Regions from separate parts of the Homo sapiens genome. Here region 1 is linked to region 2. The links are contacts of gene promoters, found by promoter capture Hi-C in blood cells and fetal thymus (Javierre and others, 2016). All regions are on one chromosome and are shown on one strand. Each heading gives the region's core, a stretch centred on a gene start or on the middle of the fragment in contact. The rest is flanking DNA. Distances are from core to core; before and after follow the strand shown. Region 1 holds the start of NIN (ninein). Region 2 holds the start of ARID4A (AT-rich interaction domain 4A).

Region 1 (6,567 bases), core at 1,968-4,467, 7.5 Mb after region 2:
TTCCTGGGCCAAACTATAACTGATCATCTACTTTAACAATCTGGCTGTCTTTGACACAGCTCTGCAACTTGCCTGAAAACTGTCCTGCTGAGTTCAAATGGTCACAGAAATAAGAAAGATATCGATTAAAGAAGTTTAGAAGGAGCCAGGAGTTGCTACATGAGTGACAGGCTGTTTGACTATTCTGTGAATAAAAAATAGTTTATACCCAACTGTGAGTTGGGAGAGGGTAGACTATGTTTGGTTAGAGCCTTTTTTTGGCTAAGAAAAAAAAAAATAACTTTTCAGGTTCCAGGAAATTTACAAAGCCTGACTTTTTCTCTCTCTTTTTCTCTCTCTCTCTCATTTGTCGTCTTGACTCTAAACTGATAATTTCAAAATTACTTCAAGAAGAAACAAAGAGTAGGCCAGGCGTGGTGGCTCACGCCTGTAATCCCAGCACTTTGGGAGGCCGAGGCAGGATCACTTGAGGTCAGGAATTCAAGACCAGCTTGACCAACATGGTGAAACCTTGTCTCTACTAAAAATTCAAAAATTAGCCAGATGTGGTTGTGCACATCTGTAATCCCAGCTACTTGGGAGGATGAGTCAGAAGAATCGCTTGAACGCAGGAGGCCAGGAGGTGGAGGTTTCAGTGAGACAAGATTGCACCACTGCACTCCAGCCTGGGCGACACAGTAAGACTCCATCTCAAAAAATAAATAAATAAATAAATAAAAAGAAAGAAAAGAAACAAAGAGTAACTTTCTCTTCCCTGGATTATTCTTTAGTTAACGTTTTAGAGCTTTAACCATCTGAGAAAGCCAGTTCCGTACTGTGAAATATGGCAGAAAACCCTTCAAAAACTTCACGTACAAATACTTCAAGGATCCTAGGTCCTTGAACAAGGTTCTTTGTAAAGTGAGAGTAAAAATCAGAGTCAGATAAGCTGCAACAGATAAGAGTGAAGTTTTGTTTGTAAAGGGTGATAACTCTGAATAAATATTTACATTTCTTCTTTTCTCTCTTATATTGGTTATAATGTAGAACTGGAGCCTGGTTGCTACTTCTGCTGTTATTTTGTGTTTAACAGAGAAAAGATCAAGTAATGGGCTCTAAAGGAAGTCTCTGCTTTTTTTTCCCATGACTCCAGTTTGGACTAAGACTAACCATGTGCTCAGTGCAAACCAAACTGCAGGCCCATTGTGTTAAATAAATCATCTTTCTTGGTAGAGTTGCTCTTGCCAACCCACACCACGCGGTAACCATGCTCCATGCTTTCCCTCCTTTGTAGCAAGGCTGGAGGTGATCCCAGTTCCCAGTCCCAGGGCTAACTCCACCCCACTTACTCCTCTCAAGAAAGCGCATCTTGTGTTTTTCAAATTACACAACCCCCAGCAATTCTGATCTTCCTGCACAGGGAGTGAATGCCACTTCCAATATCCCCTGACCCCCAGGAATCACTGTTTTAAACTAATGATCAATATCATCCTTAAGGATTCTTGCAGGTTAAAAAGCGATGCTTGGAGAGGTAACCAGTAGGATGAGGCTTCCATGGCAGAGATTAGGTGAAACAAGAAAGACACCTCTTCATTCTTACCTTCCAAGACTGTTGGCTGTTTTAGTGCCCAGTGAGCATTATTGTCTGTCTTACAAGATGACCTCTATGTAAGTATTCTGGTAACAGGTTAGCTATCCTCTTAATGAACTGCGTGTGTGTGTGTGTGTGTTGTATCATATTACTGGATGACTGAACAACCATGCATACAGTGTATGAGTGTGTGTTTGTGTGTGTATGTGTACTTATTCAAGACTGTTTAAAAAGGAGAGAGGAGCATAAATCTCTCTTATTCTGCAGGCACGCTTATATACCGTGTTGAAAGAAGAGAGCCTGGGCTTTTGAATAAGACTGAGATGTTTAAAATTTTTAAAAAAATTTTTTGAGGTAACTGTAAATTCGCTTGAAGTTGTAAGGAATAATAGAGAGATTCCCTATAGACGCTTCACTTAATTTTTCTCAATGGTAACATTTTGCATAACTGTAGAACAATATTACAATCAGTAAATGGACATTAGTGTAGTCCAAATGTCTTATTCAAATTTCATGAGTTTCACGTGCTCTCATTTGTGAGTGTATATTCAGTTCTATGCAATTTTGCCACATATGTGATCTGCTTTTGAATCTCAGTTCTGTGGAGTTCCTGCTGTGTGATCCTGAGGAAGCTCTTTGACTTCTGGGAGATCCATTTTCCTCATCTGCAAAATAATGTCTGCCTCCTAAGAGTGATGTGAGAATTAGATAAGATAATTTCTGTCGAGTTTCTAGCGCACTGGATTCTCAAGGAATGCTGGTTTCCTCTTGTCTGTTGCTTGCTTTCTCGGTAGAAAAGGAATCACCAGTTTCCTGCTAAAATAACCAGACTTGTGGGTTGTAATCCATCAGGCGGATCCTTCAAGGGCAACACATTTAACCCTGCAGCTCAAAAAGAACCATGGCCTGGACTTGGGATCCTATTTGACTGCAATGAGATCAGAAGTGTAGGGATGGGGGAGTGAGAACGCAGACTCTGGGGTAGTAGGTAGGAGGCGATTAATATCGAGCAACTGTTGGGCTGGGAACCACCAACTCCAAGGAGTTTTCGTCCTGTGTGGCTTGCGACCGAGGGTTAGCTTCACCCGGAGAAGGCTGCACAGGGGCGGGAGCCTGTGAGGACGTGGTGGGCAGGTGCGGAAGCCAGTGTAGACCCGGCAGGAGGGTCGCGCTCGCTCTACAGGGTTCCGAGTCACTTCTACAGCCCTTCTGCCTCCTGAACACCCTTTCCAATGTTGATGGCCAATCGACACCCGAGGGCTGGGAAATCACCCCCTTAAAGTCCCGCTTGCTGAAGGCGGGGGCCCTTCCTCTGCGCGAAGACGCTGCGGCCCGAGTGTCCGCGGTGCGGGTGAGTGTAGGCGTGTTGGGAAAGAAAGGGAGGCGGACAGGCAAGGGGCGAGGGTGGCAGCGCCAGCCCCAGCTCGGTGGCGACCTCGGGGCGCCAGCCTCCTACACCCGCACCCGGAGCCCCGGCGTTTCTAACTTCAGATCTCGGAGGCGGGCGCTCGGAGCGGGAGGGCGCGTCTGCGAGGGCTCAGGCGGCGCCGCCCGCTCCTCCCTCCGCTGCCTGAGCCGCGCGGGCCGCAGAGGAGGAGCCGCGCCGGGGCCGGCGTCGCCCTGACTCCTCCTCCCCGCGCGGGCCCGGCCCTTCCTCCCCGGCGTCCAGAGCTCCGGGTGGCCGCGGCCGAGCCGGGAGCCGAGCGCGCTGGGCGCGGCCGTCCCGCTGCCGCCGCCAAGCCCGGAGTGCGCCAGCGGCCATGGTTCCCGCGGCGGCGCCGGGCGCCTGAGCCCCGGGACGCAGTAAGTGGCGCAACCCCGGGGACCCGGACCCACGGCCTGGGGGTGCACGGAGGCCTCGCGCTGCCCCCGCGCCGTCGGCGAGGCCCTGAGAGCCCGGAGCGAACTGGGCACCGGATCACTCGGGGGCTTCCCATTTGGGGTCCGGGGCCAGCGGGGCGCAATCCCTGCGGGCCGGGAGGAAGCAGCGGCCGGGCGGGAGGACGAGGCGGGGACGGGGCTGCTTCGGAGGCGGGAGGAGGGGCCGGTCCCGGAGGCGCGGGCTGCGCGGGCGGGGGCGGGCCGGCGGGGGCGGGGAGGATGCGCGCTGCAGCCCGCGGCCCCCGAGAGCCGCGCTTTTGTAAGAGCTGGCCCCTTACATATGGAAATGACGCTCACGCGGGTCCCCATTCGCGTCCTTTTGAAGGACGCCCGCCCGGAACCGCTGCGCCGGCTGCGAAGTATTGTCCCGTTTCTCCAGCCCTAACAAAGCGTCCTCCTTCGCTTTGCAGAGCGCTGGAGGCGGGCTGCCGGCTGTGCGGGCGCTCCGGAGAGACCGACAGAAGGTAGGCGAGGGCGGCGGGGCCGGGGGAGCGCGCTGCCTGCCCACACAATGGGCTGTCTGAGGTTTCTGGTAGTGGCGATGGGCAGGCGAGTTGAGGACGCATCGCAGGTGGCCAGGGACTTGGGAGGCGCGCTTGTCCTGCGGCCGCACCTCCGCTTCCCCGCGCGGCAGCACCGCTGGGTTTGGGCACTTCCAGTACCCCCGACGCCCCGGCCGCCTGCCCGGAGCTGAAAGCCGCTTCTGTGCTTTGACCGAGAGCAGGCTTGAGTCCCCGAGGGAGCAGAAGGGGTGGTGGTTCCGTTGGCATGTGCCGCCCGTACAGCCTTGTGATTGAGACGCTGCAGAGGAAACTGCATGGGGAAATCCGAGGTGTTAGCCTGGGCTGTCTGAGTAGCGGAGAGCTGCTTGGAGCCCGGAAAGTGGAGATTTTTGGAGGTGTGCGGGGTCGATGCGCGTAAACAGTTTCCCAGTATAATGCCCAGGAGAAGGGGAAAGAACAAAATGACATTTGGTTATTGCCTAAAAGGTGTGGCATGGAGGTATGGAGTGTCGGGGAAGGAAGCTTCCAGCGGCTAGGCTTCTGTAGCTACCGAAGCGGCCCCTGACAGAAGGACACTAGGTGATGGGAACAGTCACTGCTTCCAGCTCTCGCTGCGAAGTTAAAAGAGATAGAGACGGAAAGAGGCAATTTCCCTAACCCCAGCCCTGACAACCCGAGGTGAAGGCACCAACAAAATGGGAGCTGGAAAGACTGCCCTACCATATATCATGTTTCCAGACAACTTGGATATTATGAGATCTGCTTTCTGCTCCTAACTAGGACAGATCCTCTCCTGGTGTTGAGGACTTCTAAGATGGGCTTGCCATACAGCTCAACTCCTGAATTTATTACATCGAAACAGATTGCGTAGTTGTCTTTTGTGACTGACATGGTAGCTTTGTAGGATGAGAATCCTGATAAAGTCCATCCTGACACATGAGGGAAGCCCCTGGAACCACGACGTTTCTCAGTTAGGTCCCCGTAAACACCATAACATACACACATGTTTGCATGATTCCGGAGGCTTGATGATCTAACAAGGAAAATTCCTTTTTTCTGTCAGTTTAATTTTACCTTGAGTCTTCTCTCGTGGTGAGCATATTATATAGGTGGCTGACCTGGAATATTGGTGGCTCTTGCTCCGGAGTTGAAGGGAGCTGAGGATTTCCAGAGTGTGTATAGGAGGAACATTACAGGCTGGCTGAAAAACGAGTTTGTGTGTTGTGGTCTCTTCAGCTATTGTCAGTGTCCTTTGGGAGGTGATGTGAACTGCCCGGGAATTTGTTTGCAGATTTGTTTATTTTCCCTGTTCTCTGGTGATTCTTTAGAGGGAAGCATTCTGCAGAGTGGGGAAAAGGTAGGATGAATGTTCCACAGGGTTGGACATCGGCAAAGTTATTACCAATACAGGGAAAGGCTTCACAGGGGGCAATAGAGAGGAAGCCATCATACAGTCTGCATTAAAATGTCAAGGATCAGTCATTTTAATAGGCACTTGCTCAGAATGGCGTGGGGTTCTTTTTTCTTATTTCTTTTTCATTTTAGATGTGTAATGACCCTTAATATCAAAAGATGTTAACTGTCACAGAGGGGGAGAATAGGGCTCCAGTGAATTCTGAACAGCCAATCTTAATGTAATAGGCAGTATTCTTATCATGAGTCAAATGTTCAAATAAATTGTTTTAAATGTCACTGCAAATGACTTTCTAAACTAACATTTCAACTATCTTGATGCTTCCATTTTATGTTGATAATGAAAATGCATTTTATCAGTCTTACATTGATAAAGGGTGGGCAAGCTTAGCCAGAGCATTTTAGAAGGATTTAAACAGCGTGAAGCCTTTTTAGAAGGCTTATTTTTATAGATGCCAATTCATTTGTAAGCCAATAAATTATCTGGTTTGAATTCTAGCTATTGAACTTGCATCTGTTGGGCAGGGGCTTATGGAGAGACTTAGTGAAGCTTGCAAAAAGATTTTTATCCTATTTATGAATAAAATAGAATTTTGAAAAGATTATGAGATTCTGAAAGTGAGCATCCTTGTTTGAAATTAGGACACTTCTTTATTGCAATTTAAGTCAGCAATTAACCATTTATTCAAGCTTTTGGATGGAAAAATTACAAAGCATCTATCTATACCCTAATTCTCACTTTAAAAACAAAGTTGGGAAAATATTGTTCATAGACGTGAGAAGAGAAGATCACCTTCACTTACACCTCAGGGTACCATACTCATAGCCTCAGGCATCCTAAATTAATGTGAGTCAATATGGCTTAAGAAGTGGAAGTTGTTATAAGCTTTCTCCTTTTTTTTTTTTTTTGTAACAAACATGCAGCTCTGTTTTCTGCTTCTGTAATTTACTTAGTAGTTGATTACAGGTTACTGAATGCACATTGTGCCAGGCTAATGGCGTTTTTTTGTTGTTGTGTTTTTTGTTTTTTGTTTTTTTTTTCCTGTAGCTAACCTGAGTTAACTACTTGATTGGGTAATCTACCAGTTATTAGGTTGAACAAAAGCATGGGTTTATTACATCCTTCAGGATAGTAAAATAATAAAGGTTGCTTACATTTTCGAATAAACGCTGATAGGATTCCCTTAGTTAAATATTATA
Region 2 (6,497 bases), core at 2,720-5,219:
ACCATGCCAGGTTAATTTTTTTATTTTTTGGAGATGGAGTCTAGCTCTGTTACCCAGGCTGGAGTGCAACGGCATGATCTTGGCTCACTGCAACCTCCGCCTCCCGGGTTCAAGCAATTCTCCTGCCTCAGCCTCCTGAGCAGCTGGGATTACAGGTGCCTGCCACCACACCCAGCTAATTTTTGTATTTTTAGTAGAGACAGGATTTCACCATGTTGGTCAGGCTGGTCTCGAACTCCTGACCTCAGGTGATCCACCCACCTCAGCCTCCCAAAGTGCTGGGATTACAGGCGTGAGTCACCGCGCCGGGTCTAATTTTTGCAATTTTAGTAGAGACAGGGTTTCGCCACGTTGGCCAGGCTGCTCTTGAACTCCTGGCCTCAAGTGATCTGCCCACTTCGGCCTCCCAAAGTGCTTGGATTACAGGCATGAGACACTACGCCCAGTCACAAAATAAACTTTTTAAATGCTTTTTTACACTGTCTTGAAAACATAATTCCTGTTGTATTTGTATTGTCCTAAACACTAAAATTGTCTCTACCTGAACATTAAATGAGGGGAGAAAATAGATTACAGTCCAAGTATGCTACCACAAATAGTTAAGAGCCAAATGACAGGAAATATCATGAGCATGGTATTTTGATGGTAGCATTTTGGAATAATTTCTCCTTTTGAGTTTTTTATTTCTTTATTTTTGATGTGCTTTTCCTTTAAGTTTGGTATATAAAGGGTTTTCATATAATGACTCAATAAAATGCTGATTTGCAGTCTCTCTCTCCCCAAATTTCTTCAATCTAGAGTTAATAAAACTATTGCATAAAAACAAATATTACCTTAACTTTCACCAGCCTTTTCACAGTCTTAATCTTTGCCTCACAGAAGGCACCTCGGTACTTGGCACTGACATCGGTTCCCACTGTCAGGTAGGCAGGCTCATCTGCCGCCTGGTGAAAGGAACATAAAACTGTGAATGTCATTACTATGCCTCCCTACTCCAACCTCAAGTCTCATTAAAAGGTTGTGTTTGAAGCATTAAGAATATTAAAATGACTTGCTTATTAATATCATTGAAAATTTGAAAAATACCCTAAATACTTGATTAGCAACCTTTCATTTTATAGACTGATGTCCTGATATGATAAAATGTTTTAAAGTTGTAATTCAAAATTATCAGTGATTAATAATGTTTTGTCTCGATACAAAATTTTTCAAAAATTCTACTATTATATAAGCAGAAAGATAAGAAAAAAACAGAAAAAATATTTCATATTACACATATCATAAAACTAAGTTATTCATTTATAGCTTCCTGAAATTTTTCAAATTAAAAGAAATATTGCTACTAATATTAACACTAACAATACATAATTGTTTATTGACATAGCCACATAAAGGTAACATCTTTTCATAAGGAAAGTATCATTTGGAAAATTCATTTGCTAAAAGCTGCACTTGAAAGGTTTTAAGTCTGAATTCAGCCGATGAATGCAGATATGAACTGATGGCTCCAGACTTGTAGGTATACCTAGTTTACCACACTAATCTTCTTAGTATAAAAAAATAAGCGTTACTAAGAAACATCTACTTTCAGCAAATGGACACGACCAGAATGATACATAGAAAGATGTAAGAAATGTCACTCTACCACTCATTTTAATTTTTACAGTAACAGGATGATTGCTATCTCAATCTGTCATTTTACCTTTTTTTTTTTTTTCCGGAAGTTAAAGTGTATCCATACAAGTTCAACTTAACATTGTTAAGTGCAAAGTTAACAGTGTACACTTTGGAGATACGTTTTGAAGTAGAAAATGATTTTTTGTTTTCTAATAAGTTTTCCCAAGTAATATTAAAGAAGGTTAAATATGTCATTTACTTCGAGAAAATAGAAAACCACGAGAAAGTTTGGGAAAATGCTATATTTCAGAGCTTAATATGCTGAAACAGTAAATAAGACAGGAATTGGGTACCTTTTAAAGTAAGTGCATTTACAAAAAATACAAATTGAATAGGAATGCTTTTGGCAAACAAAAATCTGACCTGAAACATTCAATGGCCACAGCATTCAAGAACGCTATATGAGATCCTTTCCCTTTAACCATCCACATACTGATATTTGCAGTCATCCTCAGTAGAATATGTATCTTTTTAGTATATGTTTTAAAATACTTATTGGAAAGATTTAACTAAAACTATTATTATACTTCAACTTCAAATATTTTAGCCACATAAGTTCATTTTACACACAGAAGAAATGATACCTTCATTACTTAATCCACGTATTCTTTCTTTTAGAAAATCGCATTGGCACACGGGAAGAAAAAAAATTTACAAAAAATCCCCCAAAGAACCAAAGCAGGACAAAAGCTTTACTTCTGCAAAGGTTGCTGCCAACACAGGAAGTGTTTAAAAATACTATCCGAATGGACAACAATTGAAAGGCTGCACCAGCCTTTCCAAAGTACTGCTACAGAGAGGGCCTAAACTCCGCATTTAGACACACAGATCATTTTTCACCCATTCAACACATCCTCCTATGCCGAAACTGCTGATCAGTAGGAACATCAATTTTGAGTAGCAAAACAAATGACATTCCACGGCACTAGCCTTAGGATTGGCAGTGTTCAGGGCGCGAGGATCGGGGCAGAGTTGACTCCACTTACCTTCATTTTTGTTGGTGATCTGTGGGGTTCCAGCTCAGCGAGCTATCTTCGCAGTCGCTAGAACTATGGGGAGGGGGAAAGACAGGCACAGACATAATCAGTCAACTGCGGGGAGCGACCAAGGGAAAGAAAGTAAACAAACGCCAGCGGGGAGGGGCAGAATCCTCACCAGCCAAGGGACAAGACCCCTTACGAGGGCAGCCAGGACGCAGGAGCTGAGGGGGCAGCGAGAACCCCACGAGCGCCAAAGGGCAGCCCGTTCCGCCCCGGAGCTCGCCAGCGGCCCACCGCGCCCCCGCCTCGCTGGCCACTTTGACCCGGAATGCTCAACTCGGAGCTCCAGGACAGATAGCTCCGGAAAAGGCCAGAGCTCCCTTCGGGCTTCCCCAGGTCCCCCGCGGAGACGACCGCCGAGCCTCCGCTCCGCGGTCCCCCGGATACCCCGACTTCGGCCCGCGCCCCGCCTCCGCCGCTCGGCCCCCTCGGCCCGCCCCGGGCCCGCGGTGGCGGCAGCGGAGTGTCACGGCGCCATTGCTCTCCTTCCTTCGCTCTGCACCATGTCAGAAAGGAGAAGCGCTCCTTCACCCAAAGGGGCAGGGGCCGCGGCCTTCAGCCGGGAGCCGCCAGAGCCCCGGGGGACCCGCGTGGGGGAGGGGGCGGGGGGCGGAGGGGAGGAGGAGGGGAGGTGGCCCGGACAGGGTGTGGGAGGGGAGGGGAGCCGCACCGCAGCAGCCGCTGCCTCCTCCCAGCGCCCGCCTCAACTTTTTGTACAGCCCAGAGAGGTATCAGCTCGTAGCCCCTCGAGTCCTGCCACGGACTCCGCAGAGGTGGACGCGCCGCGGAGTTGGGGGACGGCTCCCCCAAGCAGCCCGCTCTTCACCGCGCGGAAGCAAACTTAGCGGCGCGGCCAGCCCCACAGCCATTTTCCCGGGAACCCGAGGAAGCGGACGAGGAGGCGGCTGCAACTGCGGCGGCGGTTCCTGCAGTTGCTGCCGCTGGTCAATGGCTGGCCCCTTCCCTTGCGCTCGCCGTGCCACTTGCCTAGCATCCCTCTCCCCACCTCCAAAGCTTCCAACTGCACCGGGACCTCGGGCAGCAGCAGCTGCTGCTACTGCCACTTCGTCCATTCAGTATCCCCGGATTCCCCTCTCCCCACCTACCAACTGCGGGTGAAGTGCGCGCTGTCAGCTCCAGAGTCCTCCTCCCCTCTGACCTCCGTGGGCCCCCGTCCGGGCAGCACCACTCCCAGCCGCGGCTGCAGTTCCTGCGCCGGGTTCCCCACTCGCCCCGATTTACTGCCACAATCCACCAAATAACAAGCTGTTGAGCAGACTCGCTTCTACACGAACTCCTATTGGCTGCTCATGACGCCGAAGAGCTTCGGATAGGACCTCGCTACCTGCCGTCCTCATTGGATGTAGCTGTGAAACTTCATGGATTGGTGAGAAAAACAGCAGGTAGGACATCTTCCACTTATGATTGGCTTTTTCCGAAAACCAACTTTATTGGAGAGTTGGTTATTGAGTAAGCAAGTCCTGAGAAATGATTGGTAGAGACGACTCCGGATGTGCTTGACTGGGCACTGATTGGTGAATTGAGGGGTCAGGAAGAGCAGTTCGACACGAGGATTGGCGGCGGAGTGTCCCATGGAAACGGAACCCAGAATTGCAGCCAGGGGCTTGCACGGGGGCGGGGCAGGGTCTGTCCAAGGCGCTTGCGCTAAACCAGCTTGTCGGCGCCATTTTGTCTCGGCAGCGGTGGCCGTAGCTCCATCGCATTTTATGTTTCTGGCGAGAAGGGAACGGAGTTTTCATCAGGTAGATTGGTTTTTGTGCGGCCGTCCTCCACCGTTTCCTCCAGGACAGCACCTAGTCGTGGCCGGAGGAGTCTCAGAGCTGTCAGAAAGGTCAGTTGGAGGCTATGGTTGTCCGATTGACTGGGGGGATGGCGCAGCCCTAGCGGCACCGGCACCGGAAGTGAAGGGGCCGCAGGCAGCCATGGTAAACTTCTCCCTGCGGCGGGGTGGGGAGAAGGGGCGGGATGAATGGGGGCGAGGCTTCCTCTCCCGCCGAGATAAAGAGGTGGAGGAGAGGCAAACGTCTTTCTTGGAGGTTCTCTTTCGGGTTTTCGAGAATGTGAGAGATTTTCTGGGTTCTGTCCCACTGCAATCTTTCCTGTCTTTGGAAGTGCATTTCGGGGACTTGCCATGTTCTCCACCTGATTGGCACCAGCTGTGGGAGCCTTCTTAGTTAAGACAGGGAAGAAGTGGTTCTTAGAAACATCCTGCATGGGTAGAGGTTTCCGCGTGCTCCTCACGGGATAAAGCTATGAGGAAACTGGAGAAAGCGCTGGCTTTCTGGATGCTGAGGAATTTACTTGCCAGCGCAGACGCTTCTTCTGTGACCTTAGACAAGGGTCTGTCACTCTGCACGAGGCTTATGCTACTTTTTGAAAGCAAACAGTGGTTTTGCAGGGACTGAAAACATCTTAGACAAAAGGACGTCCCCGATAAGATAGACGTTGATCTTTTTCTGTTAACATCTTATATTCTGTTAAACGAAACACACATTTTTAAATAGCGGAATTGGAGTATAAAATTGACTAGTTTTATAGAATGGAGTAATTTTTAAAATGTGACATATCGTCAGTAATCCACGTGGACTAAATTTTCTCAGTAAGAAAACAGCCGAGCAGAATCAGTTTTTTATTCGTAACAGTAATTTTGCTCAAAAGTATTCATAAAAACGTGAAATGCATGTTGGCATTTCTAGTGAGTGACCTAGTCACACTGGATAGATCCTAATAGTTACCCTCAATACCTCTGTTTTAAACCCTACTGCTATATTGGTGGCGCCCATAACTAGAAAATGATTGTGTGACTTAACAATTACTGGGTTTTTTGGCAGTTGTGCTGAAGAAAACAGAACATCTCAGTGATTACTGAGGTGAGTCATAAAGTCTAAAAATCCTTAGAATTGCGGGGGACTACCTGGAAAAACTTTCTATGGATTAGTAAAGAAATACCAGAATGGGAGGAAGGGTAGTTAAAAGATGTTTTGTTTGGTCAGATTCAAATGAGTCTGTATAATTAGCTTTCTAGTGTAATATTTTAGAATGAAATCCCAAAATTAGGACATCCTTATGGACTTGTTTACCCATTTACGTGGTTCTCATTTCTGGACTTTGATATACCTCATGTTTTTGTTATAAAACATTATGCGTATTTTTGTGATTTCCTCCCCCCCACCCGCCTATTTAAAAAGTTCTTATATAGAAAAGATCTTGTAAATGGGAGTGTTTAGGAGTGAGGCTTTTTTTTTTTTTTTTTTTTTTTTTTTGGAGACAGAGTCTCTCTCTGTCATCGAGGCTGGAGTGCAGTGGCGCAATCTCGTAGGAGTGAAGCAGTTTTTTAAAAGACCTTATAAAACAATATATTACTGAATTTTCTAGGGGGTAAGCATCCATAATTCTACGATCAAAGTTTAAACTGTTATTATTGAATCCAAATAATGCATGGACATTTGGAAATTATTAAAAAGCCCAAAGAAGAATACAAAAATGTCTTCCCTCCTCCAAAAGGTAGTTACGGTTTACACTATAGTTATATATTATACAAAAGGCTTTGTCTTTTTTGTTGGTTTTGTTTTACCAAATATTCTAGTGTTGTTCATTACCGTCTATTCTTTATAGAAAACATTGGGAATATTGGAAATATCTTATCGTAAAGCATCTTTTATGTCTTCATAGTGTTTTGTGGGATAAATATATCATAATTTATGTAACGTGTTTATTTTTCTATAATGGCAGTAATATGTCAGTGAATATCCTTGTACA

What was found. The method cuts DNA at HindIII sites, captures the fragments that hold promoters and counts their contacts. A CHiCAGO score of 5 or more calls a contact.
Region 1: a contact is called between the fragment with the promoter of NIN here and the fragment with the promoter of ARID4A in region 2, in 1 of 17 cell types (neutrophils). The highest score is 10.6, in neutrophils.

What each region holds. Positions count from the first base shown.
Region 1 is chr14:50,827,812-50,834,378 of GRCh38, reverse strand. NIN (ninein) reads left to right here and starts at 3,217. Exons shown (of 31, transcript NM_020921.4): 1 at 3,217-3,373; 2 at 3,862-3,915. RefSeq lists silencers at 2,876-3,325, 3,376-3,655, 3,726-3,775, 3,796-3,915 and an enhancer at 4,486-4,535. The HindIII fragment of the contact is 8,436 bases long and covers 1-4,478 here.
Region 2 is chr14:58,296,027-58,302,523 of GRCh38, reverse strand. It overlaps ARID4A (AT-rich interaction domain 4A), which reads right to left and starts at 3,969. Exons shown (of 24, transcript NM_002892.4): 1 at 3,824-3,969; 2 at 2,664-2,726; 3 at 834-944. The coding sequence starts at 2,669. PSMA3-AS1 (PSMA3 antisense RNA 1) reads left to right here and starts at 4,387. Exons shown (of 4, transcript NR_029435.1): 1 at 4,387-4,569. RefSeq lists a silencer at 2,880-3,399 and enhancers at 4,030-4,119, 4,230-4,279, 4,300-4,719, 4,016-4,739. The HindIII fragment of the contact is 5,118 bases long and covers 3,734-6,497 here.